Regions from separate parts of the Homo sapiens genome. Here all the other regions are linked to region 6. The links are contacts of gene promoters, found by promoter capture Hi-C in blood cells and fetal thymus (Javierre and others, 2016). All regions are on one chromosome and are shown on one strand. The core of a region is centred on a gene start or on the middle of the fragment in contact, and the rest is flanking DNA. Distances in the headings are between cores, read along the strand shown. Region 1 overlaps NDUFS4 (NADH:ubiquinone oxidoreductase subunit S4). Region 2 overlaps DHX29 (DExH-box helicase 29). Region 3 overlaps CDC20B (cell division cycle 20B). Region 4 holds the start of MCIDAS (multiciliate differentiation and DNA synthesis associated cell cycle protein). Region 5 has its middle 15 kb from the start of CDC20B. Region 6 holds the start of SNX18 (sorting nexin 18). Region 7 overlaps CDC20B (cell division cycle 20B).

The links. The method cuts DNA at HindIII sites, captures the fragments that hold promoters and counts their contacts. A CHiCAGO score of 5 or more calls a contact.
Region 1: a contact is called between a fragment that was not itself captured here and the fragment with the promoter of SNX18 in region 6, in 1 of 17 cell types (monocytes). The highest score is 5.0, in monocytes.
Region 2: a contact is called between a fragment that was not itself captured here and the fragment with the promoter of SNX18 in region 6, in 1 of 17 cell types (neutrophils). The highest score is 5.1, in neutrophils.
Region 3: a contact is called between a fragment that was not itself captured here and the fragment with the promoter of SNX18 in region 6, in 15 of 17 cell types (naive CD8 T cells, activated CD4 T cells, total CD8 T cells and 12 more). The highest score is 23.5, in naive CD8 T cells.
Region 4: the fragment with the promoter of MCIDAS here is called in contact with the fragment with the promoter of SNX18 in region 6 in 6 of 17 cell types (naive CD8 T cells, activated CD4 T cells, naive CD4 T cells and 3 more); the score reaches 8.0 in naive CD8 T cells.
Region 5: a contact is called between a fragment that was not itself captured here and the fragment with the promoter of SNX18 in region 6, in 1 of 17 cell types (activated CD4 T cells). The highest score is 5.1, in activated CD4 T cells.
Region 7: a fragment that was not itself captured here is called in contact with the fragment with the promoter of SNX18 in region 6 in 11 of 17 cell types (fetal thymus, naive B cells, neutrophils and 8 more); the score reaches 13.6 in fetal thymus.

What each region holds. Positions count from the first base shown.
Region 1 is chr5:53,561,738-53,565,554 of GRCh38, forward strand. All of the region lies in intron 1 of NDUFS4 (NADH:ubiquinone oxidoreductase subunit S4), which reads left to right. Among named protein-coding and RNA genes, the nearest start is that of NDUFS4, 3.0 kb to the left of the region's middle. The HindIII fragment of the contact is 4,422 bases long and covers 1-3,669 here.
Region 2 is chr5:55,295,681-55,299,231 of GRCh38, forward strand. DHX29 (DExH-box helicase 29) reads right to left here. Exons shown (of 27, transcript NM_019030.4): 2 at 2,911-2,984; 3 at 1,605-1,718; 4 at 540-669. Among named protein-coding and RNA genes, the nearest start is that of DHX29, 10 kb to the right of the region's middle. The HindIII fragment of the contact is 9,704 bases long and covers 1-3,551 here.
Region 3 is chr5:55,160,451-55,164,299 of GRCh38, forward strand. The region is part of intron 2 of CDC20B (cell division cycle 20B); the gene reads right to left. It overlaps GPX8 (glutathione peroxidase 8 (putative)), which reads left to right. Exons shown (of 3, transcript NM_001008397.4): 2 at 544-805; 3 at 3,605-3,849. The coding sequence ends at 3,768. Among named protein-coding and RNA genes, the nearest start is that of GPX8, 2.2 kb to the left of the region's middle. The HindIII fragment of the contact is 1,162 bases long and covers 909-2,070 here.
Region 4 is chr5:55,225,855-55,229,517 of GRCh38, forward strand. It overlaps MCIDAS (multiciliate differentiation and DNA synthesis associated cell cycle protein), which reads right to left and starts at 1,461. Exons shown (of 7, transcript NM_001190787.3): 1 at 1,165-1,461; 2 at 981-1,077; 3 at 722-813. The coding sequence starts at 1,284. It overlaps LOC124900978 (a long non-coding RNA gene), which reads left to right and starts at 764. Exons shown (of 2, transcript XR_007058773.1): 1 at 764-1,443; 2 at 1,790-3,663. RefSeq lists silencers at 1,211-1,280, 1,331-1,480, 1,631-1,720. The HindIII fragment of the contact is 6,344 bases long and covers 1-3,663 here.
Region 5 is chr5:55,186,532-55,189,961 of GRCh38, forward strand. No RefSeq gene overlaps it. Among named protein-coding and RNA genes, the nearest start is that of CDC20B, 15 kb to the left of the region's middle. RefSeq lists a silencer at 2,236-2,436. The HindIII fragment of the contact is 2,780 bases long and covers 24-2,803 here.
Region 6 is chr5:54,515,976-54,519,542 of GRCh38, forward strand. It overlaps SNX18 (sorting nexin 18), which reads left to right and starts at 1,784. Exons shown (of 2, transcript NM_001102575.2): 1 at 1,784-3,567. The coding sequence starts at 1,978. RefSeq lists silencers at 1,538-1,779, 1,660-2,219 and an enhancer at 2,692-3,567. The HindIII fragment of the contact is 5,643 bases long and covers 623-3,567 here.
Region 7 is chr5:55,139,117-55,142,913 of GRCh38, forward strand. It overlaps CDC20B (cell division cycle 20B), which reads right to left. Exons shown (of 12, transcript NM_001170402.1): 5 at 1,198-1,291. Among named protein-coding and RNA genes, the nearest start is that of GPX8, 19 kb to the right of the region's middle. The HindIII fragment of the contact is 3,807 bases long and covers 1-3,765 here.

The sequences.
Region 1 (3,817 bases), core at 209-2,708, 950 kb before region 6:
AATGGAATGCAGAGAATTAGGATGAGTTAATTCGGAAGAATTTTTAAGGATGAGTTTTATTAAGGTTTAAATATAGTGGGTGTTGGGTGGGAAAGAAGAGAGTGTCCCGTAGGGTCCGTGGCTTATGAAAAGGCTTGAAAGCATTAGTTAAACGATTACTAAATACATAGAATAGAGTCACTCAAAAGTAAGGGTGCTAAGATTGGGGAAAGGCAAATGATGTTTGTAATTAAGTGTTCCATATATGGAAAGTATTTTTCCTTTTTCTTTCTCTTTTTTTTTTTGAGATACATTCTCACTCTGACGCCCAGGCTGTAGTGCAATGGCGTGATCTTGGTTCACTGCAACCTCCGCCTCCCGGGTTCAAGCAGTTCTCCTGCCGCAGCCTCCTGACTAGCTGGGATTACAGGCGCGCACCACCACACCTGGCTAATTTTTGTATTTTTAGTAGAGGCGGGGTTTCACCATGTTGGTCAGGCTGGGTTAAGTATTTTTCTAAGGTAAAATACTTCACTGGTTAACTTAGAGTTAATATAGCGGTGACCAAGATTAGCCCTTCCTCCCGTACAGATTATAGGGATTAATTGTCATTCCCAGATAATAATGTACTCATGGTAGCCCCAGAACTGAAAACAAGTTTGAAGGGACCACTGGTTTATGGCTAATCAAAACATGGCTGTAATTTTAAGTCAAAGCCATTTTGTCAGCAATTATAGTAATTGAAGTTGAGATTAGATTTTTGAAACTCTGATGATAATTGTTACTACATATCCAAACTTAAGAGTTTTTGCCTGCAAATGTAAGAGATTTGAAAATAAATCATTTAATCTTGAAAAAAAATCTTAATGCCAGGGAAGACGTTTTTTAAATACAAATTAACACATTTATTTGTTTTCTGTGCCACATTTTTACCCTAAGAGCTTGTCATGTTCATCCTAATTTGAGGGAAATTTATAGACCCTCTCCCTTACATATTGTTTGTTCTTCATCCTTAAGCATTCTTTTTCCATTATGATTTGATAGTAATGAGGATCTGAAAAAGGTGAGTAGAAAGAACCAATTAATGGGAAAATCTACATCTAAAATTCATTTTATTGTAATGCTTAGAAAAACATTTGCAAATCATGTAACATTTCAGATCATTTGAATAGAATATGGGAAGTGGAATCAGTAAGGTAAGGAGTGGAGTAGGGAACTGAAGGAAAGGAAGGGCCGGGCGCGGTGGCTCACACCTGTAATCCCAGCACTTTGGGAGGCCGAGGCGGGCAGATCACAAGGTCAGGAGATCGAGACCATCCTGGCCAACACGGTGAAACCCCGTCTCTACTAAAAATACAAAAAATTAGCCAGGCGTGGCAGCGTGCGCCTGTAGTCCCAGCTACTCAGGAGGCTGAGGCAGGAGGATGGCGTGAACCCGGGAGGCAGAGCTTGCAGTGAGTCAAGATCGCGCCACTGCACTCCAGCCTGGGCAACAGAGCCAGACTGTGTCTCAAAAAAACAAAAAAAAAAAAAAAAAAGAAAAGGAAGGATGCTGTTAGCTGCTACATTAACATATTAATTCAATTATAGTATATCATCAGTGAAAAGCAAAACAAAGAATGCAACAACACATACACACAAGAGAGAAAAAATCTAGTAATGTGGGTGATTGAGCTGATCTAGTTACTTACTGAGCTTGTGCTGTAGTGTTGGTCTCAGTTTCCATGTGCTTCTCATTTCCCTGTACCGAATGTGAGGAGGCAAAAAAAGGGGTTAAATTGTCTACATTTTTTTTTTTTTTGGAGATGTAGTTTCGCTCTTGTCACCCATTCTAGAGTGCAGTGGCACAATCTCAGTTCACTGCAACCTCTGCCTCCCGGGTTCAAGCGATTCTCCCGCCCCAGCCTCCAGAGTAGCTGGGATTACAGGTGCCCACCACCTCGCCCAGCTAATTTTTTTATTTTTAGTAGAGATGGAGTTTCACCGTGTTAGCCAGGCTGGTCTCAAACTCCTACCCACAGGTGATCCACCCGCCCCGGCCTCCCAAAGTGCTGGGATGACAGGCGGGAGCCACCGCGCCCATCCCTAAGTTGTCTACATTTATCCTTACTTTCCCTGACTTTCCTAAGAGATTTTCCAGGGTAAATTTAACTATTCTAAATGCATTTATCAGCCAGATGAAATGGCACTCTATTTCAAAATAGCTATACTTAAGATATTTGATGCAGTGATGTTTTTATTCACTTATTTAAGTGTGTTCATGTATACTTATCTCACCTTAGTATTTACTAGGTCTTGTGTTTTCCTCAAACAAGTCCTTAGGGTGTTAAATCACCCAGAGGGTTTTAATTAATGACTGGTGGGGACTGAGTGTTTGGGACCTGTTTGTGAGGTCTCTTTTATGCCCTGATCTGTGGCTTTATTCTGTTGCTGTGTTTGGTTCTTCAGCATTATATAAGCTAGCATGAAATTGAGTCTTCAATTCGATGGGGAATTGAATTTGAACCCTCCAAATAGTAAGCAGTCCTTAAGGTTGACAAGAATTCTGTTTGTTAACACCTTGCTGGGAAATAGGCTAAGCTCAAATTTAGGACACTTAAGACCAATAGGTTCACTTCTACTTCAGATAAACTAAATAAATTCCTCTCCTAGGGGCAGCTATTTTTGCTATCTTTGTAACACATCCAAGCCAAAGTTTGAGAGCTTGAAAGATTTCTAATATGTTTTCTGATAGGTTTATTTGTTTTGTTTCTTTTCCTCTTTCCAAATGCCCATACTTAGTTTTCATCAGTAGCAGACATCTTCGTTGAATTTTTGTTAGGAAAATAATTATTATATTTTGAGACAGAGTCTCATTCTGTTGCTCAGGCTGGAGTGCAGTGGCGCAATCTTGGCTCATGCAACCTCCACCCTCTGGGCTCAGGTGATCCTCCTGCCTTAGTCTTCACAGGCAGCTGGGACTGTAGGTGTGCTTGCCACCACGCCCAGCTAATTTTTGTATTTTCAGTACAGACGGGGTTTCACACTGGTCTTGAACACCTGACCCCAAGTGATCCGTGTGCCTTGGCCTCCCAAAGTGTTAGGATTACAGGCATGAGCCACCGTATCCAGCCGGAAAATTAAATATTTTAATATGTAATGTCGGCATATAGTAAGCCTTCCCTAGATAAATGGTAATTTTATTATTGGTTTGAATGGCCTGAATGTTTTTCATTTCTTTAATCTTGGTTGTAAGTATTGTGATAGATTGTGTTATTGTTTAAAGTATTCACTACCACTGTCTGCAACAGGATTACATATCCAAAAACCACTGGCCAAATGACTTGCTTTATCCAGTGAAATGTTAGTGGAAATGATATACCATGTCAAACAGGAGCTTTGAGAGCTCTCCTGTGTTTTGTCATATTCCTTTTCCCTCTGATGTGAGGTAGGTGTACTCCAGGTGGGGTCTGCTGTTTTAGCCCACATCTTGGATTGTAGACTACATAGTGCAAAGCAGAAACTGATTCTTATTGCAAGATTTTATAAAATATAAATTGAGTGAAAAATAAACCTTTGCTGTAAGCCACAAAGGTGTTTGGATTGGTTACCTCAGCATAACAACCTATGCTGACTCTATTTTATATACACTCATATTTGCAAGTGAGCAGGTTTTAGCACATGGACCGATATATCAGCAGTGAGGTCGCAAGCTTTTTGAGGACACAACCACATTTTTGTTTATTTGTGTGTACTTCATGGCATCTAGTGTAATGGCTTGCATGTAGCAGGTAAATGCTTATCTTACAGATGAATAAATACATATTTAGAGATGAGCGATTGTGAGGAAAAGCAGGGA
Region 2 (3,551 bases), core at 458-2,957, 780 kb after region 6:
GGTTTTATCCGTCAACCTAGAAGTGAACGTACTCATCAGATGATAGCTAGCCCTCTTGTATTTGGCCATTATTTCACCCTCAATGTTAGGCTCCTAAATTGTCATAAGATCTTAATCCTTCCCACTCTTTGGCTTTCTGTCACAGCATGTGGTAGTATCCTTAGTCACCACAAGCCATTTGCACTCCAGATTCTTGCCAAAGATTACAATCATGATCCTCTGCTTAATAAAATACTATATATTCAAGGACAGTCCTAATTTCTAAATGAAAAGCCAGGAGACATAGCTTACTGAGAGGCAAACCTTGTATTAAGGACATAGCAAAATAACAATCAACAACTGAACACAAAACATAATATTTTCTTGCATAGGCCACAATCTCTAAGGAAAATATCCTGAAAAGAACAGAAGGTAAGAACACTTTAAAAGTAAATAATTATGACAGTGAAAAAATATGAGTATGAGCCAAAAGGTTGATACAAATACCAAAACTACTTCAAAAGGTTTAGAAACTGAAAGAATTTAATGATATTGTTTACCATCTGAAAGGTTTAAACAGAGCCAATCCAAGGCAGAATGAAGGTCACCTCCATATAAGAGTGTATTGGTCATGGCATCTTCAATGTCCTTTGTCTTAAATGAAAATGCTTGTAAAGCCATGTATAAATCCTATGACAAGCAAATATAAAAAAAGTCACATTTGTCAAAGTTCCCTTCCTGTGTTACTAATTATCCCATTCATTTTAAACCAGAAACTTTGACACAAATTATAATTTCAAAACTATCTTTTTTTTCCCAGTTAAAAATGAAATGTGTTTACTGAATTAAGAATTTGGAAACCAGAGATCTTTAAAAAAGAGAACCAGGAGAAATTATCCATATTCTCACTATCCAAAGATACTAAATGTAGTACATTTTTTTCAGTCATTTTTCCATAATTTTGTAAAAAGAGATTTCACTTAACATTATAACATAAGCACCTTCCCAAGTTAGTAGAAACTCTGCACCATCACTTTGAATAGTTACATAATATTCCACTGGGTGGACATATCCTGATTTAATTTTATATTTTTCTATGGCTGAACACTTAGGACATATTTTTTTTTTATTACAAGCTGTGCTTCAGTGAACATCTTTATAGATAAAGATAAAGCATTTTAACATACTTTCTAAAGCATAATCATTATGGTTAGGCAGAGCTGGGTTCAAATCCAGACCCTGTTTACTAGTAACCTTAGGGTATAATTTATGGCATCTTTGCAAGCCTCAATTCTTTCACTTGAAAAAATGGGGCCAAATACATTTACTTCATAGGACTGTTGTGTCAGAGAAAATGTAAACAAAGTGCCCAGCACAGAATCTAACATAGTAGGTGCTCAATAATATAATTCTGGGGATATACCTTAATTTTCATATCACCATTTTAATGTGTGCACTTGTACCTTCTTGATTTAAGGTGTGCACAATTCTTTCTCTATTCTTAGAGATGGAAATGATCTACATAAAATCTCAATGGAAGTTGTAAAGCCATTTTTATCTCACATGAGGAGCTGTCTAAAAATGCTTCACTAAAACTAAGGAACTTTAAAAAGTTTGCAAAATACCTGCAATTTTTTGGCAGTAAGTCTTCCAGAAATCATTCCTTTGTCATTATTTTGCTTTTTATGCTCATTGATCACTCCAATAATTCTTTGCTCTAGTTTGTTATTAATTACCACCTGTTGAGGCCAAAAAGGTCATATCATTTAGAAGCTAAATTATTAAAAAATTAAAAGCCAATCATACAGTTTTCTATATTCCTGCCAACCAAGCCCAAAATTTCAGCTAAAATCAGATACAGTAATTATCATTTTTTGGACTACCACCCATTTGACCACATTCCTATCATTTCTTTAAGAAAAAATGTGATATGAAAAAAGCAACAAGATAACACATGGCAAGAAAAAGCCTCTTGAGGGCAATGTCACGAGACATTGTCCTTGGACCACCCTTGGGTTGCTGTCACAAAGATTCCTAAGTTCTATCCCAAACATACTGAATCAGAATTCTTGGAGGGATTTAATGTAAACCACTGCAAGCACACAACCTAAAAGAATGAACACTATACTAAAAACGGGTATAACAAGTAAAACTGAAAACTAAATATGTCGTAATAAGCTACACAAATTCTTTTGGCTTCTAGACTTTGATTCCTACTTTTTCCTACTAGCCATTTTATTTTCTGTTCTTTTGTTATTTTTGACCTAAGAGTACACAAGCATCTACTTACAAAAATATCTTCCCTTTGTTACTTTTTAACTAAATGCCTACTATAAACTAAGCACAAAAATATAATTCAGAAATTCACAGTCTAGCCCAGAAAATATATATAAAGAGACAAATTATAACCCAGCATGGCAATTCTCAAAAAAGATATATCAAGTAATAGTAGAACCACCAAGAAAATCAACTTGGCGGTTGATAAAGGACTTCATAGAGGTCACAGAGGTGACAAATAAAAAGGGGAAATAAGGGCACTCTACGCAGAGAGTACATGGGTAAAAGCTAGAAGTTGTAAAATCACGGATTTAGAAGAACAAATGAGATATTCATGAGATGTCCCATGAACTAAAATATTAAGTAGAGATCAGAGTAGCAGAGAGGAGGGTGAAACGGTATTCTAAGACAGACCTGAAAAAATGTATATGCCATGCTTAAGAAGTTTAGATCTTAACCAGGCCTTCCTTCATTTCTTACTGTCTCTCAACATATGTGTATGATTTACTTATTTTTAGTAGAGATTAGCTCTTAGAGTACTATTTACAAAAATTTAAAACACCCCATCATTTTCTTACATTTAAGGATACATCTTTTTTGGGGGAAAAAAGGGGGAAACATTTCTTGAAATGACTCAAAACCTTTGTTACTTACTTTCAAAATAGATTTATCCAGATTTGCAGGACCACTAGAATCATTTGTAGAATTAAAACTATAAATTTTTGGACCTGTAAATACAAATAGACAAGGCAATTTAATGATTAATATCTATTACATTATTTTAATTTTCCTCTAAAGAATGCTAAATATTAGGCCGGGCGCGGTGGCTCACGCCTGTAATCCCAGCACTTTGGGAGGCCGAGGCGGGTGGATCATGAGGTCAGGAGATCGAGACCATCCTGGCTAACAAGGTGAAACCCCGTCTCTACTAAAAATACAAAAAATTAGCCGGGCGCGGTGGCGGGCGCCTGTAGTCCCAGCTACTCGGGAGGCTGAGGCAGGAGAATGGCGTGAACCCGGGAAGCGGAGCTTGCAGTGAGCCGAGATTGCGCCACTGCAGTCCGCAGTCCGGCCTGGGCGACAGAGCGAGACTCCGTCTCAAAAAAAAAAAAAAAAAAAAAAAGAATGCTAAATATTAAATATTTGATTTCAGCTTTTTTCCCCAATACTTCACCAAATAACTCAATCTAGTAGCTAGCAATATCCTCTCTAAATTTTCAACATTTTACCAATTAGCATTACTCCATGTTAACCAGTTTCTCATAAAATGCAAATGCCTACATATCTTTTAGGTT
Region 3 (3,849 bases), core at 240-2,739, 640 kb after region 6:
TCCTCTTAATAAAATCAATTTTTTGCTGTTACATGGTCATAAGTTGGAATTTAGTCTTCAGAGTAATGGTATTAGTACATCACTTTAGTTATTACAGTTCTGATAGTTTGCTTCTAAATAATAAATTCCGATTATCTCGTTTTCTTTAAAATGCTTTAATTTTGTGCTGAATTGACATGTAAAGTTGTTTGGAAAATACTTATAGTTAGTAATGTGAACATGATGACATTTATTAATAAAAGTATTGGTTCTATAATCTAATAACTTTAAAAAGAACTTATCAAGGATCATAGTTTTATCTTTAATTTAAAAATAAACTTTCATGAGTATCTAATGCTTTTTTAATGGCAGTACTATTTCAGGGCCTTAACCCAGGCATCTAGGTTACAGTTTTCAATAGAACTGTGTATGTCCAAAAATATGAAAAAAACATCAATCAGAGGTTATAGTCCCCCCCAAATTGTTTAGGATTTTAACTACTTGCAGAATTTTTTAAAATCTTTTGCTTCACTTTCCGGTTGGATTTTTTTCTTTTTCCGGGAGGTTTCACTAGTTGTAAACGTGGCCAGTGACTGCCAACTCACAGACAGAAATTACTTAGGGCTGAAGGAACTGCACAAAGAGTTTGGACCATCCCACTTCAGCGTGTTGGCTTTTCCCTGCAATCAGTTTGGAGAATCGGAGCCCCGCCCAAGCAAGGAAGTAGAATCTTTTGCAAGAAAAAACTACGGAGTAACTTTCCCCATCTTCCACAAGATTAAGATTCTAGGATCTGAAGGAGAACCTGCATTTAGATTTCTTGTTGGTAAATATCTGCCTTGCATATGCTGTTTTAAATTGCTTTTCATTTTTAAACAATTATACCAGGACAATACTTTCCTATTTCATTTGAAACGTTGTATCGGGAAAGCTTCATAAAACTATCATCAAAGAGCCAGAATCTCATCCTTTGTAACTTCTAGGAGTTATGCTCCCCTGAAATCAATGTTTTAGCTTCTTAGATGGTAAAAGAATTCTATTCCAATATATTTTATTCCTTATTACCATCTTCCTGAAGAATTTACTTAAAGTGTGCCCATGGCTATTTTCACAAAATATCTTAATTCTCCTCTCTTGTAACTAGCATCTGGAGAAATGTCCCTTCCCGTCATTATAGCCACACAGCTCTCATGAATAGTGCTGGGCATTATTAGTTAACATATGTTTGTGGCTAATTTTATGTTGTCTTTCTTATCTGAAACAATATTCTCAAAGATGAATATGTCAGCTTACCAGATTTTTGCTAAAATCCAAAAACATATAACTTGGTTTTTTCAGAGGGCAGTAGTGTTAGGCTATTTCTCCAATTAAGCTAGCTACAGAAATCTGTTTAAAGACTTGCCAAGGTCACTTAGCACAAAGGTCATGAGGCATACAGACAGCATAGGCTTTGGCCTCAAGCTACCTGGGTTCAAACCCCTGCTCTTTTGTTTTTGCTATGTGGCTTCTTAACTTCTCTGTGCCTGTTTCTCATTTGTAAAATGGGCTATCAATAGTACCGCCTTCTTAAGATTGTTTGGAATTAAGTCTGTTAATAGTAAAAATAAAGTACTTATACACTGCTTGCTCTGTGCCAGACACTGTTCTAAACCATATTAGTCAAAAAAAAAAAAAAAAAAAAAAAGGCCGGGCGCGGTGGCTCACGCCTGTAATCCCAGCACTTTAGGAGGCCGAGGCAGGCAGATCACTTAAGGTCAGGAGTTAGAGACTAGCCTGGCCAATATGGTGAAACCCCATCTCTATTAATAGTACAAAAATTAGCCAGGTGTGGTGGTGGGCACCTGTAATCCCAGCTATTCAGGAGGCTGAGGCAGGAGAATCGCTTGAACCCAGAGGCAGAGGTTGCAGTGAGCTGAAATCGCGCTACTGCACTCCAGCCTGGGCGACAGAGCAAGCCTGCATCTTAAATAAATAAATAAAGGACATTAGCTAATGTTCTCTCATCTAACTTATTCTGATGACATCTTCAGTCCTATTTTCACTGTAAATAAGTTGAGTTTTGATCAAACTATTACCTCACTCAGGCAATCAAGCTTCTAATCCAACAAACCAAATAGTGATCTATAATATTTCACATAAATGTGAAGTCAGAATCTTCTAAAAACATTATATTTAATTTCTAGGGAAAGTTGATATAATGCCTAACGCCATAAATGGCAACCACAGTGAGGTCTTTATTCCTCTTATTTTGAAGGTCCACTGAGGAAAGAAAAGCCCAAGCACATGCCATTGAACTAATCATTCTTCAGTTACAGCAGCCAGATACGTGGGTGCAATAGCTCATAGGTTATTTCTCTTTATCACTACAAACCTTCTAAAACCCTTCTTAGCCTGTGTAATCAAAAAGGTAACAGTGAGTTAAGGTGTCATTCCACTTAGATAGGAAGGATCATAGAGCCCAAAGGTTAAGAGCATGAGCTCTGGAGTAAAAGGCCCGTATATCAATCCTGGCTCAACCACTCATTAGCCACGTGACCTTGTGTCTAGGCTTCCATTTATCTCATCTGCAAAACGGGGATGATAATAATACCCACCTCATAGGGTCCCTGTAAGATTAAAAGAGAGGATCAATTTGAAGCACGGAGCGTACATTAATCTGGCACATAGTAAGCACTTCATAAATTTTAGTTATAATTATTATATTTTTCCTCATGTTAGTCAATAAAATGAACATAAATCTTGAGTGGTATAAATAGAAAAAAAATCTACATTTCTTACATAAATTAAGATTTATCAAAAGGATATCATGGCTGGGCATGGTAGCTCATGCATGTAATCCCAGCACTTTGGGAGGCCAAGACAGGAGGATCACTTTAGTGCCCAGGAGTTCAAGCCCATCCCGGGCAACACAGCGAGACCCTGCCAAAAAAAAAGTTATTGCTTTTCAAAATAAGGTGATTATTCACTTTGGGAGGCCAAAACCCTATCTCTACTCAAAATACAAAAATTTGCCTGGTGTGGTGGCACACACCTGTAATCCCAGCAATTTGGGATTACAACTTTGCTTCATTTTTTTTGGCTTTTAATTTTATTTGACACAGAGTTTCACTCTTGTCCCCCAGGCTGGAGGGCAGTGGTGTGGTCTCAGCTCACTGCAACCTCCACCTCCCAGGTTCAAATGATTCTACTGTCTCAGCCTCCCGAGTAGCTGGGATTACAGGTGCACACCACCACACCCGGCTAATTTTTTGTATTTTTAGTAGAGATGGGGTTTCACCGTGTTGGGCAGGCTGGTCTTAAACTCCTGATCTTAGGTGATCCACCCGCCTCAGCCTCCCAAAGTGCTGGGATTACAGACTGAGCCACGGCTCCCAGCCTACTTTGCTTCATTTCTTGATACTAAGATCACATACTAGATGAGTAGACTCATAGGTGAAGTCATCAAGTATATTGAAATCTGGTTACTCTAACCTTGAGTTTCACTTCGTTTGGGTGTTTTGTTTTTTATATTATGACAGTCCTAGAACTTGATACTAAAGTTATCATTTATGCAGATACTAATAGAAGTGAAAATCTTGACAAAGAATAAAATTATGCTCATGAAAATATGTTCTGGATATTTTAGATTCTTCAAAGAAGGAACCAAGGTGGAATTTTTGGAAGTATCTTGTCAACCCTGAGGGTCAAGTTGTGAAGTTCTGGAAGCCAGAGGAGCCCATTGAAGTCATCAGGCCTGACATAGCAGCTCTGGTTAGACAAGTGATCATAAAAAAGAAAGAGGATCTATGAGAATGCCATTGCGTTTCTAATAGAACAGAGAAATGTCTCCATGAGGGTTTGGTCTCATTTTAAACATTTTTTTTTTGGAGA
Region 4 (3,663 bases), core at 211-2,710, 710 kb after region 6:
GCCTGGGAAGCGTCAGCACCAGCAAGTGGCGGAAGTGGGATGGGAGCAAGAAGACAGGTTTTGGGGAAAAGAAAAAAGTCAAGTGCCTTTTTGCCCCATCACGGCAAGTGACTAGAGCTTTTCGAAGGGCTGAACAGGACTTTGAAAAAGCGCCCAATTGCTGAAGGACTGTCTCTGCAGAGAAGAACATTTTCTGCAAGATTACTTCCAGAGTCCTTTGTCCTTCCTGCTTCTTCCAACTGCAAATTCTCTTGCTCTTTTCCAGTCCTGATAGAGAAGTTATCCATCAACCTCCACTCTTCTTATATACCCACGGAATGAAAATGGCCAGGAAGGGGGTGTTGGGAGAACTGATAGGAATGCAACAGGTTCCCAGTGCGCAACTTTGCTCCCACCCACCCGCCTGGTCTCTCAGTGCGCAATCTTGTCACAGCTCCAAAGAGTAGATAGGGTGGGAAATAGGAGGGGAGGCCTCCAGATGAGCCCGACTGTATCAAGTTGGTCAAATCAGCTCCAGTGGATATGTGGTCTTCATAACATACTAGGATGCAAGTAGAAGTTCTGATCTGGGAGGCTCAGGTGCCTGCACAATGCTTCCCCTCACCAGCTGAGTGTGCCTGCGCTCCCGACCCGAGAGGAGCTTTTGGGGAATTAAAACCACCACCCCGGAGGAGGGTTTGGGTTGCGTGAAACCACGAGGCTCCACGAGAAGGGGAGGTACCTGCGAGGCGGCCAGGTCACCACCAGGCGGCGCGTCGGACCCGAGTAGCGAAGAGCAGTCAGCGAGGTCCTGCAGGTCTATGGTGGTGAGGGCTGCGCGGGGAGACCGGGAGACACGCGCCGGGCGGGCCCTGAGCCTCTCCGCCAGGCTCGCAGCTAGGACGTCAGAGCCCGGGGGAGAGAAGCTCCTCCGAGCTGTGCGCGCCGCACCCTCCCGGCGCGGGGAACCCGAGGGGTAGCGTGGGTGCCACGGGGCTCACCTGGCAGCGCTGTGGGCTCGGCGTCCGGGGGATCCTCGTACACCGACACCGGGCTCCCGCCTGTGCATCCGGGGAAGAACTTCCGCGGAGGAGCGAACTGGCCGGGCACACAAACGTTGAACGCGGGTCAGCCCTCGGGGCACCGAGCGCGCAGACCCCGCCCGGCCCGAATCAACCGCCCCACCTTCCTCTCCGGCTTCCCCGGCTTGCAGAGCAGCGCCCGGCCCGGCAGTGCCAGCATTCTGTTGGGGCAGATGCTGTCGAAGGCCCGACGGCCGGCCGCGCCGCCCCCGCACGCCTGCATTGTGCCTCCTGCCTCCGGGTGCCGACTGCTCGGAGGCGGCGGCCCGGGCTGGGGCAGCGATCCACACCCTGCACTCCCTTCAGTGCCTGCAGGCTCCGAAGCCAGCCAGAGGTTGGGGCAGGCGCGTGACCGAGAAGGAGCCGAGGGGCTGCCGAGGAGGTGCTGAGAGATGGCGGGGGAGGGGGAGGACCGCCGCGCGGGAGGGGTGGCTTGCGCCTGAGCGCCAGAGGTGGCGCCTTCAGCCCGGGACAATCTGCGCGCGGGCGGAGGCGTTAAACCCAACCTGGCAACCGGGCTTCCCCCGGGAGCCGCCAGCGCGGGGCCCCGGCCCGCCAGCGCCGTTTCGGCGAGCTTTGGCGCCGCCGCCTCCCGGACGCGCCAGGCGAAGAGAGGGAGAAGGAGGGGCGGGCAAACGCCGGTCTCCCTCGCCCTGGGTACCGTCTTCCCGCTTACAGACAGGGGGAATGGCAAAGTTAACGATTATTTCCTTTTCTTCCCACTCCAGCCACAAGGCGCACGAAATAAACGTGGAGTGACACCCGCCAGCGCTAGACTCCGGCCTTTGCGCTCCTGCAGGATTTAGTAAGGATGTAGAATACCGGCAGGGATGCCCTGGAACAGCCCCCTTATTACAGAAGCCCCTTCCCTCAAACCTGAACCTTATCCTGGGTCCTGACTTATGGATTTCCACGTGGTCTCTTTTGGCCTGACGCCAAGAGCCCGCCCCGCTCCCCAAGCCCCGCACTCTTCTCGGCAGTGGCGCGTGAGCACAGCCTTTAAAAGACCGTCCGTTAAGAAAAAGTGACACTACGAACCCTCCTCCACTTTCTGAAAACGCCACAGTGGAAAGTACCGAATCCCCGAAAACCCTGTTCCTGTCTTTCCTAGTGGCCTCAGCGGCCCATCGCCACGTTTGGCTGGTCTCTTCGCAGTCGTAGTTGCCATTCCCAAGCCAACACCTCTCCAAGGAATGGGCATTTTCCTGAGTCCGAGGCATCTCCTAGGGAGGGGCATCCTTAGGCGAGGGACCTTTCTCAGTACCACTCATATTCATCCAATTTGAACAGTCGTCTGAAATTGGAATCTTTGTGTACCCACCCCCCTATGTTGGGCACCTTGTTTTCCCCTTATACCTAGTAGTCGTAGTGAAAGAGCCTCTAGTAAGAAACAAGATACCCTAACAGCGGTGGAAGGTAATCCAATGGTAGAGCTGGAATAGAGTGAGAGACTCTCTGACCCAGGAGTAGATGCAGAAACTGAATTGATGTGAGGTCAGCCAGCTAGAGTTGGTGTGGTATGGCTCATGGTGAGGAGCTCTGGCTTTAGGGTCAGAGTGCCTGAGGACCAGGTCCATGAGCCCTAGGTCTTTAGGAAAAAAAGTTACACTGGCCTCAATAGAGTTGCTGTGAAGATGAGTGAGATTATTTATGTAAAGTGACTGGTGCTTAGTATGGGTAAATTAGTGATTTTTTAAAAGCCTTTTCAGCTGTATTTCCAGCTTCCCACAACTTGTTCCTAGCCCTGTCTCCTGTTTCCTCTGGTTTCTGAGTAGCACGACCACTAGCCAGTCCATCTCCATCTCCATCCCCATCCTCACCCACTTTCCAGCCTTTAAAATGAGTAGGGAAGCTCTTAGCTGAGTTTTGGGGCGATCTCCACACATGCAGATCGTCACAAAATTTCCAGGATAGGCCCATTTTCCAAATATTCGTCAATGAGTTCTAAGTTGGAGTAGACAAAAATATGGGCATTGCACATTATCTGTTGTAACAGGAACTGGAATAGCATGATTATATGACTCCTAGTGTGGATGATTCTGGAACCAGTAACTCATAGCAGTCTTGGCTGATTAATGGAGCAGATATTGGTGAAGACAACTCCGCGCAAAGTCACTCTTTTGCCTGGGGACCAGACCCCAACCCCTTACAACCAAGCAGAGGGCCCTAATAATTTGTTATTTGAAACAGGTGATATGATCTTCCTCCTCCCTTTTCACCATCACAGAGCAGCTTTTACACAAATAGCTTGGGGATCACCACGTCCTTCTTCCACAGCCAAGGAGGAGAAAGTTCCTAGAAAGTTTAGCATAGCAATATGTCAGAAGAGGCATTCAAGGGGCCCAGAGTAAGGCACTCCTGGCTCCGAGAACACCTGGAAGACACACTTTGAGAGAAGTGCAAAGAAGTTTCTCTAAATTTGAGTTTGCTTTTTATTTGTATTTGTCATACATTTTGATATACCCTAGGTGCAGGGGAACATGACAGATTTTCCCCCAAAAAATTATCACTTTTTTCAACCATACAGAAAATTTGAAAAAACAGTACGATGAACAACCATATGTTCAACCCCACACAAATTGTTATTTTCCCATATTTGCTC
Region 5 (3,430 bases), core at 164-2,663, 670 kb after region 6:
TGAGCCACTGCATCTGGCCATAAAGCTTTCTTAAGAGCACATAGTACAATACCAGACACGTGGTATGTGCTTAGTAATCTATGATTATCATGGGGGCCGCTTCCACTATAATTTGTATGCCCTAGAGCATAACTGCCCAATAGAAGTATAATGCAAGCCACGTAAGTAATCTTTCAAACTTTCTAGTAGCCACAGTAAGAAAATTTAAAATAAATAGGTAAAATTAATTTAAATAATATATTTAATTTAATGTAACATATATGAAATATTATAATTTCCACATATAATCAATATAAAAAATATTGAGATATTTTATGATTTTTTGGCATTAGGTCTTTAAAATCCTTTGTGTGTTCTACATTTATAGCAAATCCCGATTTGTACTAATCTGCATCTCAAGTGCTCAATAGCCACATGTAACTAGTGGCTACCTAAGACAATGTAGCCCTAGAGAGTTCTAGGAGCTCTTCCCCTCCTCTTCCCAAGGTTGTTTAATCTGACCCATGCTGACTTCCTATACCAGTTGTTCATCCATTGGGTACTATTTCAAGCACTAGAATTTATTGTTTAGTCCCATTTTTAATTCAATATAGTGGATAATTTTCTTATAAGATTGGTTAAAAGAACCAATTATCAAAGGAGATTGTTAAACCTCTTGGAGATATATAAAAATTCCATAATTTACATATGATGATCTAAGTATGGTGTTGCAAAACAGAATAAATAGGAAATTATATGTATTTCATTTCTAATCAAATTTTTAATGCCCCATTTCAAAATTTAAAGGCTAGCAGTTTGTCTTCTGCTTTGAACACAACCAGGCAGAAATCAGAGTAAACATGCTCATGACAGTCAAACTTAAACATCGTCATTAACACACCTGATCTTCAGGTACTTGGCCCAACCTTCTCCAATAAAGATGCATTTGCACTAAATTAAAACGAACACTTTCTTTCCTGAAGGTGGCACTGTGAACATGGAAAGTAATTAGCTCTCTTCACATTATCCAGGATTGTGGGCCTATTTTATCAGATTGAAAAAAAAAAAAATGCAAAATAGGCCAAGCACGGTGGCTCACATCTGTAATCCCAGCACTTTGAGAGGCCAAGGCAGGAGGATGTTTTGAAGCCAGGAATCAAGACTAGCCTGGGCAACAGAGTGGGACATCATGTCTACGAAAAATTTAAATAAAAAAATTAGCCAGGAGCAGTGGTACATGCCTGTAGTCCCAGCTACTTGGGAGGCTGAGGTGAGAGGATCACGACCCTGTCTCAAAAAAAAGAAAAAAACAAATTATATACATCTCAGTTATTCTGATGTCCTTGATAATTTAAATTGCTATTTTCCTTTCATTTTGATTCTTCTTCCTTCCTTTTTGAGATCAAATGTATTGTCTATACTAACTGGGCCCATTGACTTTTTGAGTGAGTTTTTATATTAAGATGTTGTTTTCTTTTTTAAAAAAAAAAAACCTAACAGCTAAAATTTATTGAATGCTGTTTTCAACCACAATACTAAGCACTTTAAATACTTTATAGCATTTTTGTACTTCAGTGGCAAAATGAAGGCAGGAACTATTTTAAAAGAGTAGTTAATTCCCACAACTCCAACTGACATGATTTTGCTAGGAAAATTTAGAGTTTATAAACTTGTTTCTCTGCTTTTCTTCTGGGACAGCATATAGGGAGACAAGATATGATGTTTGTCTTTATTAACTAGAGACTTGACTAAGAGCTTTTATTTTGTTACCTGCTACAAAAAAAAAGAAGAAGAAGAAGAAGAAAAAGAAGAAAAGGAAAAGAAAGGAAGAAATGAAGATCTAATTGGGACATTTTCTGTTTTTTTGTTAACAAACACATACCACCAACCCTCACCAGAATCAGATCTAGTTTAGGAAGGCACAAGCCAACTAAAATATTTTGTCATCAACTGTGGGAAGTTTTGACTCAAACAACCTAAAAGTTTGCAGTGACCTTACTGCTCAATAGGCTAAAATCTTAAACATCCCTCAAAGGTTGAGCCCACATAATTTGAATACATGAATTTGGTGTGTGCCAAAAGTGTGCTATCATTCTCAACTTTCCTATAGAGATTCTACAACTTTATCGCCTAAATGTTGAGTAAAAAGCAAAACAAAACAAAATAGAAACTTGAATCGCATCACTATTATGGAAAACTTACCCATCAGCTGCACCGCCAAATTCTCAGCTCATCATATTTAAATGAAACACTTCCAACTGTGCTTACCCAGTAAGCAAACATACCTGTGTAAATACAGAAGCATTTAGCTAACATTTCATACAGTTCAACTTAGCCAGTGGGACATAATTTCAACACAATTATGTTTACATTTTAGTAATAGGATACACAAGGACCTGATTTACTAGAGTAAGACAGTGAGGAAAAGCCCTTAAATTCTTCTTTATAAGAAGAAGAAACAAACAGTAGCATACTAGTAAAATGGATAGAATCACATGGCTGGTAATCCCTTTAGAAGTTTACAAAAATGAGCATAGTGACTATAGGCAGGACTAAACTATCCCGGTCTGCTCTCTCCTCTTTTGAAATGTCGTGATTATAATCAACTTTAGTTCAGAAAACATTTTTTCTTTAAACAGCACACACGACTGGGGAAATAGATCAATTAGATAACTTCCTCTGGGAGCTCTCAGGCTAGATGGGAAGAGGAGACATACACAATAATGACCCTAACACTGACACACTGTGAGAGTGATATCATGAAAACACAAGGTCCTATAGGATATTCTTTCTATGTAAATAAACATAAATGTAGCCATTCTTAAGCTTTCTCTTCTTAAGGTTAAATAATTTCAATTCCTATTTCCCAATGCTTTGTTTACTGTACACCTCTGAATCCTCAGGTTTCAATATTTATCTTAGATTATAGAACTCAAAACTGTACCACCATTATAAATGCCCAAAGGCTGAATTTGGGAAGAAATGCTTTACTTCCTTTAGTTTCCTCGCATTTTCTTCACTTTTGAAATAATTGTAGGGAAAGTTAATGATCCAGTGCATATTTGTTAAATATCCAACCACGAGGTATTGGTTGAATAAATTACTCCACGTCTATATAATGAAATCAAGTCATTAAAATATTTCAGAAATAAAAATCATAAAAGAATCATAAATACTATTAGAAGAAAAAGGAGGCACATATCAGGTTATAATTCTTATTTTAAGTATATATTTGTCTGTATATATACGCAAAGGAGCCTGGATGTTCCCATTAAGTGGGAGAAATATGGGTGTTTTATGTACACTTTTGCTTGCAGTTATTCATTTTGTAGCAAGAAAAAAAATAAGATGTTTCACTTGTAATATAATTATCAAAATTAAAGCAAATTTTAGAATCTCAGTTTATTAGCATAAGAGATTTTATCTATGAAATGAAGTATAAATTGTGTGT
Region 6 (3,567 bases), core at 534-3,033:
CAATAATTCCTCAACCACCATTTCTACAGAGTAGCTCAACCAGTCTGTAAAAAATCATCACCTTAAACTCCTGGAATTTTCACACCTGAAATAAGCCCAAAGTTACTGTACTTAACTCTAATCTAAAAAGTAACTACTAAACGAACAGAAGGGGCGAAACTAAATTTATTTATCTTACATATTCTAGGTTAGCTTTTCAGAAGTAAAATGAGTCATATTCTAGAGGTTTAGTTAATGTGGACTTCATGTTTCTGACCACATGAAATGTTGGCATTGAAATTCAATGATCCCTGTTGCTTACTGTGAGAATAGTCAAAACCCAGAATTTTCAGCTAAAAATGTAATTTAGAATATGCTTACTGAATTGAATTAAGGTTTTGCATTAGGATAAACACTGTGGGAGTGATTCTGGTATAGTGGGTTTGTGTTTTTGTGCAAGATGCTTACAATACCACAGCCCTTAGAATAATTGTACACTCTTCTGGCCCGTTTCCCAGGTTTCCTTGAAAAGGGTCAGAGGACAGGCTGAAATTAATGACACATGAATGCAGAACCTCAATTAGAAGTGTCTTCAAAGGAATAATTAGGCTAGACTTAATAAGAGGGGATTAAGAGAAGAAAAAGCTTTGGGCAAATTATACACTGAAGGAAAGGAAGATAGGAAACAAGGCAACGATAGATTGGAGCTGATTATTTCAGGAAGTGATTTTTGTTCTATTTATCTTAAAAATAATATAAATATAGTGAGACATAGAGACAACAGATGGATGGATGGTCACTGACCTCTTACTAGGAGTGGCAATGTGAACATTGGGACGCTTCCTGGTGCATGTACCCTGCAATTGTTAGTTTAGTACCCCTATTCCCTTTGTGAAAGAGGCCAGGGATTTTGCTTCCCCCAAATAACAGTAACAGCAGCAAAAGCAGCAACAAACCCTTCAAATCTGCTTACCCTGCCAGATATTGTTTCACTTTCCTCATCTGTAAAATAGGGATTACTTTATGATGGAATCCCCACAACAACCCCCGGAGGTAGGTACGATATAAGTGCCTTGTTCCAGGTCATACAGCTAGGTAGTGTCAGAACACAGATTGAAATTCAGAAGCCTGGCTCCGAAGTTTGAGCTCTCATTCACCGCACTACATATATCTATGGGAGGATAGGCGACACATGCATGTAATAAATGTGTGAGCATTTATTGTACTGGAAACTCTCCAGCTCCTCCCTCTCTACATGATCCTTTGCTTCTAATTTTGTCAATCACAGCACCTTCCCTGGCCCTTACTTTGTTCTTGCCAATCTCCTCTCCTTGAGCAGAAGAGGGAAGGGAGCCTGCTCTGTAGGTGAACAGCTCCTCCGCAGAGGCATCCTGTTTTCTTAGTGCAATCACTAATTCGCATTGCAAAATGCTTTATTACATGACTGGGTTGCCATTCTAGGAGCATTCACTGAGCGCTCAGAGTGGGAACGTTTATCAGGCATGCAAATGCTAACTTACTTTCTAGAGAATGTTTAACTTAAAAGCCTAAAGAAATCTCAGATAATTCACTTCGGAGTAGAAACCTCCTTCAGCCGCGCTCACTACGGCGCCCGGCTTCGCGGCACCGGCCACTAGAGGGCAGTGGCCGCCGCAAAGCCGACGCGGGCGGTGGGCTCGGCGGCTCGGCCATCGCTTGCTCTCGCCTGGCAAGGGGCTCTCGGCCGTGGATTAGCGCAGCTGGAGACGTGGGAGGCCGCGGGCCCCGCCCCCGACCGGCGGCGGCTGCGGCGGCCCAGCGCGGCAGTCGGCGCTGCGAAGTGGAGGCGCTGCGAGCGGAGCCGCGCGGAGGGCGCGACCGGCTGGTCCGGGCAGCGTGGGTTTGCCGCCTTCGGGGCTCCAGTCCGCGCGCCAGGGCTCGAGCAGTACCGCGGGCCCCTCAGGTGGGCCTCGGCTCGGGACGCCGGGAGTCGGGACCGCCAGTCGGGGCGCCGGGACCATGGCGCTGCGCGCCCGGGCGCTGTACGACTTCAGGTCGGAGAACCCAGGAGAGATCTCGCTGCGAGAGCACGAGGTGCTGAGCCTGTGCAGCGAGCAGGACATCGAGGGCTGGCTCGAGGGGGTCAACAGCCGCGGCGACCGCGGCCTCTTCCCGGCCTCCTATGTGCAGGTGATCCGCGCCCCCGAGCCTGGCCCGGCGGGAGACGGCGGCCCGGGCGCCCCGGCCCGCTACGCCAATGTGCCCCCCGGGGGCTTCGAGCCCCTGCCTGTCGCGCCCCCCGCCTCCTTCAAGCCGCCGCCTGACGCCTTCCAGGCGCTGCTGCAGCCACAGCAGGCGCCGCCTCCGAGCACCTTCCAGCCGCCCGGCGCGGGCTTCCCGTACGGCGGGGGCGCCCTGCAGCCGTCGCCTCAGCAGCTCTACGGCGGCTACCAGGCCAGCCAAGGCAGCGATGATGACTGGGACGACGAGTGGGACGACAGCTCCACGGTGGCGGACGAGCCGGGCGCTCTGGGCAGCGGAGCATACCCGGACCTCGACGGCTCGTCTTCGGCGGGTGTGGGCGCAGCCGGCCGCTACCGCCTGTCCACGCGCTCCGACCTGTCCCTGGGTTCCCGCGGCGGCTCGGTCCCCCCGCAGCACCACCCGTCGGGGCCCAAGAGCTCGGCCACCGTGAGCCGCAACCTCAATCGCTTCTCCACCTTCGTCAAGTCCGGCGGGGAGGCCTTCGTGCTGGGGGAGGCGTCAGGCTTCGTGAAGGACGGGGACAAGCTGTGCGTGGTGCTGGGGCCCTATGGCCCCGAGTGGCAGGAGAACCCCTACCCGTTCCAGTGCACCATCGACGACCCCACCAAGCAGACCAAGTTCAAGGGCATGAAGAGCTACATCTCCTACAAGCTGGTGCCCACGCACACGCAGGTGCCGGTGCATCGGCGCTACAAGCACTTCGACTGGCTGTACGCGCGCCTGGCGGAGAAGTTCCCGGTCATCTCCGTGCCCCACCTGCCCGAGAAGCAGGCCACCGGCCGCTTCGAGGAGGACTTCATCTCTAAGCGCAGGAAGGGCCTGATCTGGTGGATGAACCACATGGCCAGCCACCCAGTGCTGGCGCAGTGCGACGTCTTCCAGCACTTCCTGACGTGCCCCAGCAGCACCGACGAGAAAGCCTGGAAGCAGGGCAAGAGGAAGGCCGAGAAGGACGAGATGGTGGGCGCCAACTTCTTCCTGACCCTTAGCACGCCCCCCGCCGCTGCCCTTGACCTGCAGGAGGTGGAGAGCAAGATCGACGGCTTCAAGTGCTTCACCAAGAAGATGGACGACAGCGCGCTGCAGCTCAACCACACGGCCAACGAGTTCGCGCGCAAGCAGGTGACCGGCTTCAAAAAGGAGTATCAGAAGGTGGGCCAGTCCTTCCGCGGCCTCAGCCAGGCCTTTGAGCTGGACCAGCAGGCCTTCTCGGTGGGCCTGAACCAGGCTATCGCCTTCACCGGAGATGCCTATGACGCCATTGGCGAGCTCTTCGCGGAGCAGCCCAGGCAGGACCTGGATCCCGTCATGGACCTATTAGCGCTGTATCAGGGGCATCTGGCT
Region 7 (3,797 bases), core at 612-3,111, 620 kb after region 6:
CTTTTCTAAGAGCATCAAGAGAGAAAAAGCAAAGTTGAAGTCAAATTAACACATGACTTCTCAACAGCAACAGTGGATACTAGAAAACCATAAAGCAATATTGTCAAAATTCTGAGTGAGACTAGAATTTATAGCCAGCCAAACTATGAATCAAGCATAAAAGAAAAATAAGGACATCTTCAGACCAGCAAACCCAGAAAGAGCACAACATAGCTGCCCAAAAATAGTGGATATAATATTGATGAAAAGTCCCAGAAGACAACTGTGCAACTGGCCAAGAAAGCAGCCTGTTCAGCAGGCTCTGAAAGGGAGGACATCAAGGAAAAGAAGAAACTGGAGTGAGTGAGTGCATGGAAAATGTTATTGACAGCTACGGAATAAAACATTGGAGCATTTAGAGGAAATATTAATGGTGTCATAGTTATCTAGTAAATGAAAACTAAGGCAACTTTTAATACTCAGCTAAACAATTATACTAGAAAAGAAGCATAATTATATTATTTGGCTTGATAGTGAATAATAGTTGTGTAGTAATATGATGTAAACATTAACTACTAATTTTACTTTTTTAAAGTGTGATATAAGCATGTCGAGAAACTGATGAAACTGAATGAGGCAGGAAGAGAACTAAATTCTTATCTACTATGCCTGTAATCCCAGCACTTTGGGAGGCTGAGGCAGGAGGGTCACTTGCGGCCAGGAGTTCGAGACCAGCCATGGCCAACATGGTGAAACCCAACTCTACTAAAAATACAAAAAAATTAACCAGGCATGGTGGTGCATGCCTATAATCCCAGCTACTCAGGGAGCTGAGGCATGAGAGTCCTTTGAACCCGGGAGGCAAAGGTTGCAGTGAGCCAAGATCGCACCACTGCACTCCAGCCTGAGCAACACCAAAAACAAAAAAGTCATGATTAAGTCTAAAATCACAAGAAATAGTAGTTTACCAATATTATTTAGAAAATAGATGTAAATACCAGGAGGACAGCTGGAAGAACTAAAGGTGGTCACCTATAGAGAATGGGACTTGGAGGTAGGGGTAGTTAGAACAGAGGATTATGAGAATTATTCATATTTTACAATTAGGTTGATTTAGTCTAGTAAATATTAAAAATAATATATTTTAAGATTAGGAAGAAATGAAGGAGGCAGAGAGAGAGGAGCGCAGGAAAGAAGGACAATGTCTTGATCCTGTACCTTTCCAAACACATTCGGATTGCTCACAGAGCTGCATTTTTCCATTAGCCTGCTGAACCACGTTCTGGGTTACAAAGAGTTGTTTTAGGCATTTCTGAAAATAAACACACATAAGGAGAATATTTCTTTAAAAACATACATGTACAACTAAAATGTAATGTATAATATAGAATTACAACTGGTAATTCACTAAGGAGTTCAAAGATTCCACATTGTCAAAGCCAACACCACAATAATCGCTATTATTTATTAACTAAACAATATATTATGAACAGTGCTGAGCATTTTACATATATTATTTCTCAACTATGGAGTTCAACAACTCCATAGAGCAGGTATTTTTTGGCTAGAATAAAATCTTTTTTTACTCTTCTAGCCTAAAAATCTGTTTAGCCTATACACCATAGGCCAGTGATATCAGCAAAGCCTGCCACAGCTGAATGGCCATCTTAAGGTCCTTTTTTGTTAACACCTTCACAGAGCTCTTAAGTAACTTTACTAAAATTCCATGTGCACAAAAATCTGGGTCCCATCCCTTTGGGCCAATATATAAAGAGCCCTTCTGACACTCTTACATCCAACTTCAATCAAAAACACCTGGGAAAATTAGTAATAAGTGGAAAGAAAAATAACTGTTGGAATTTCCTAAAAACATAGTGATAAATGATTAAAGCAGAGAAGATTCTGTTTTGCTTCTTCACAATAAAATATTTGCTCTCCCAAATATGACAAACACTGTGTCAGGTTCAGAACTACGCCAAAGGTCATGTTGAGGTCTGGAGGGAGTGGGTGGATGAGCAGAAAGAACACTTTGGGGGGCCGTAGGCAGGTGAATGATTTTATTCAGCAGCAGCTCTCATCAACAGCTTTCTTACACTAGCTCTCTACACTGTTCACCTTTATCTTGGCTGCTTAATTGATGACCCACACACACAGCTGCAAGACTGGCTCTCCCTTGCCTTCAGGGTCAGCAGCTTAACACTTTCTTTCTCTGGGCACGAGCAAGCCAAGCTGTGTCCTGGCTCCCCTCATCCATCTGCAAAGACAGCTCTGGCTTTCTCTTTCTCCAGGTGCCAGCTTCTGCACAGTGTCAACAGGGCAATTATACCTTTTACGGACAATAGTGGCTTAGAGCCAAGTGATGGCCTTCCCGGTGTTATAACTATAGTGGTGAGCTTCTCTATGTTGTGTCTACATGGCTATGATGACAAGTGGAGTTATACGCCTGTGCTCTATACTCACTGAGTCACGAAGAATGTAAACATCCTACCTCGGCCTATCCTTGACCAAAGCACAGCCATGTTCCTTACACTCTGGGTCCCCACGGTTCAGACAGAAGTCTCTCTGACAGACAACATTTTGGTATTTTGTTTTTCTTCCTTGATGTTATGTCACATAATTGGCATTGCTGTCAATGAATCGTGGTTTTTAGTTATTCAAGGTAGAACAACTAACTAGAAAGCAGGGTTTCCCAATCTTGGCACTATGGGCAACAATTCATTGTTGTGGGAGCTGTTCTGTGCATTGTAGGATGTTTAGCAGTAACCCAGGCCTTCACCCACAAGATGCTCTCCCCCTGAGTTGTAACAATGAAATGTCTTTAGATATTGCCAAATGCCCCTTGGTGAGTAAAATCACCCTGAGTTGAGAACCGTTAGTATAAAATAATATTCCTAAAATGGCCTGCTCATCAGTAGTTCAATGAACTCTTCACAGACTCACTTCTTTAGAATCCCACAGTTACCACAAAGCTGATCACAGCAAGGTTTAGCAGGCGCTTCTGTTCTGTGGGTGCAGGGGTGCTCTTTCCTAGATGAGATCGACTTACTACTTTAATCAGCAACTTAATATGGAGCTCCTGGAAGATGAATTCTGAAAGTCTCCACGGCTATGCAGGCCCTCGTTGTGGAAACACCCTCCAGATGATCAGTGAGGACCACATGAAGACACACGTTTACTCTACAGGGGAAAGACCTCGCTTTGAGTCTTCACCACTCTCGATGCTATTTGACTTCTAACTAATCATGACAAAAAATGCTCTCCTTAACACCATAGAACAGCTTCCATTATCCCCTGCCCAGGTTCTTCAGTGATGCTGGGATGATGTTCCAGCTGGTATAACAATTGCTAAGGAGTATCTTGCCAACACCATCATGAGCCCACAGATGGAGCCACTAACCTTGCTGCCACCAGTTACCAGAAAGGATAAGAGGAAGGAAAAGGAAGTCTTAAGGGGTAGGGCAGCAAAAACTCCAATCAGCAGTAGAGGGTGGAAAACACAGGAGTGTCAATAATCTGGCCCATGTTTGAGGCCACCAGTGCACCCTAATTATCTCAGTAGGACTCCCCGGCCATTCCCTATCCCCCAAACCCATATCCAACAATAAAGCACACATCAAAATACCTGCTCTAAAACATTCACTTCCAATTGCATATGAGTTCAGATAACTAAAATTTATATGAACAATATTTTATTATTCTTCTAGCAAAATAGCCAAGCACAGAAAAAGGCATACACTGAATAAGTAATTTTGCCTAAATTGAGAATTTATGACTTTTCTAGTTCAAAGCTTTCGAACTGAAATATGGATTCCTTCAAA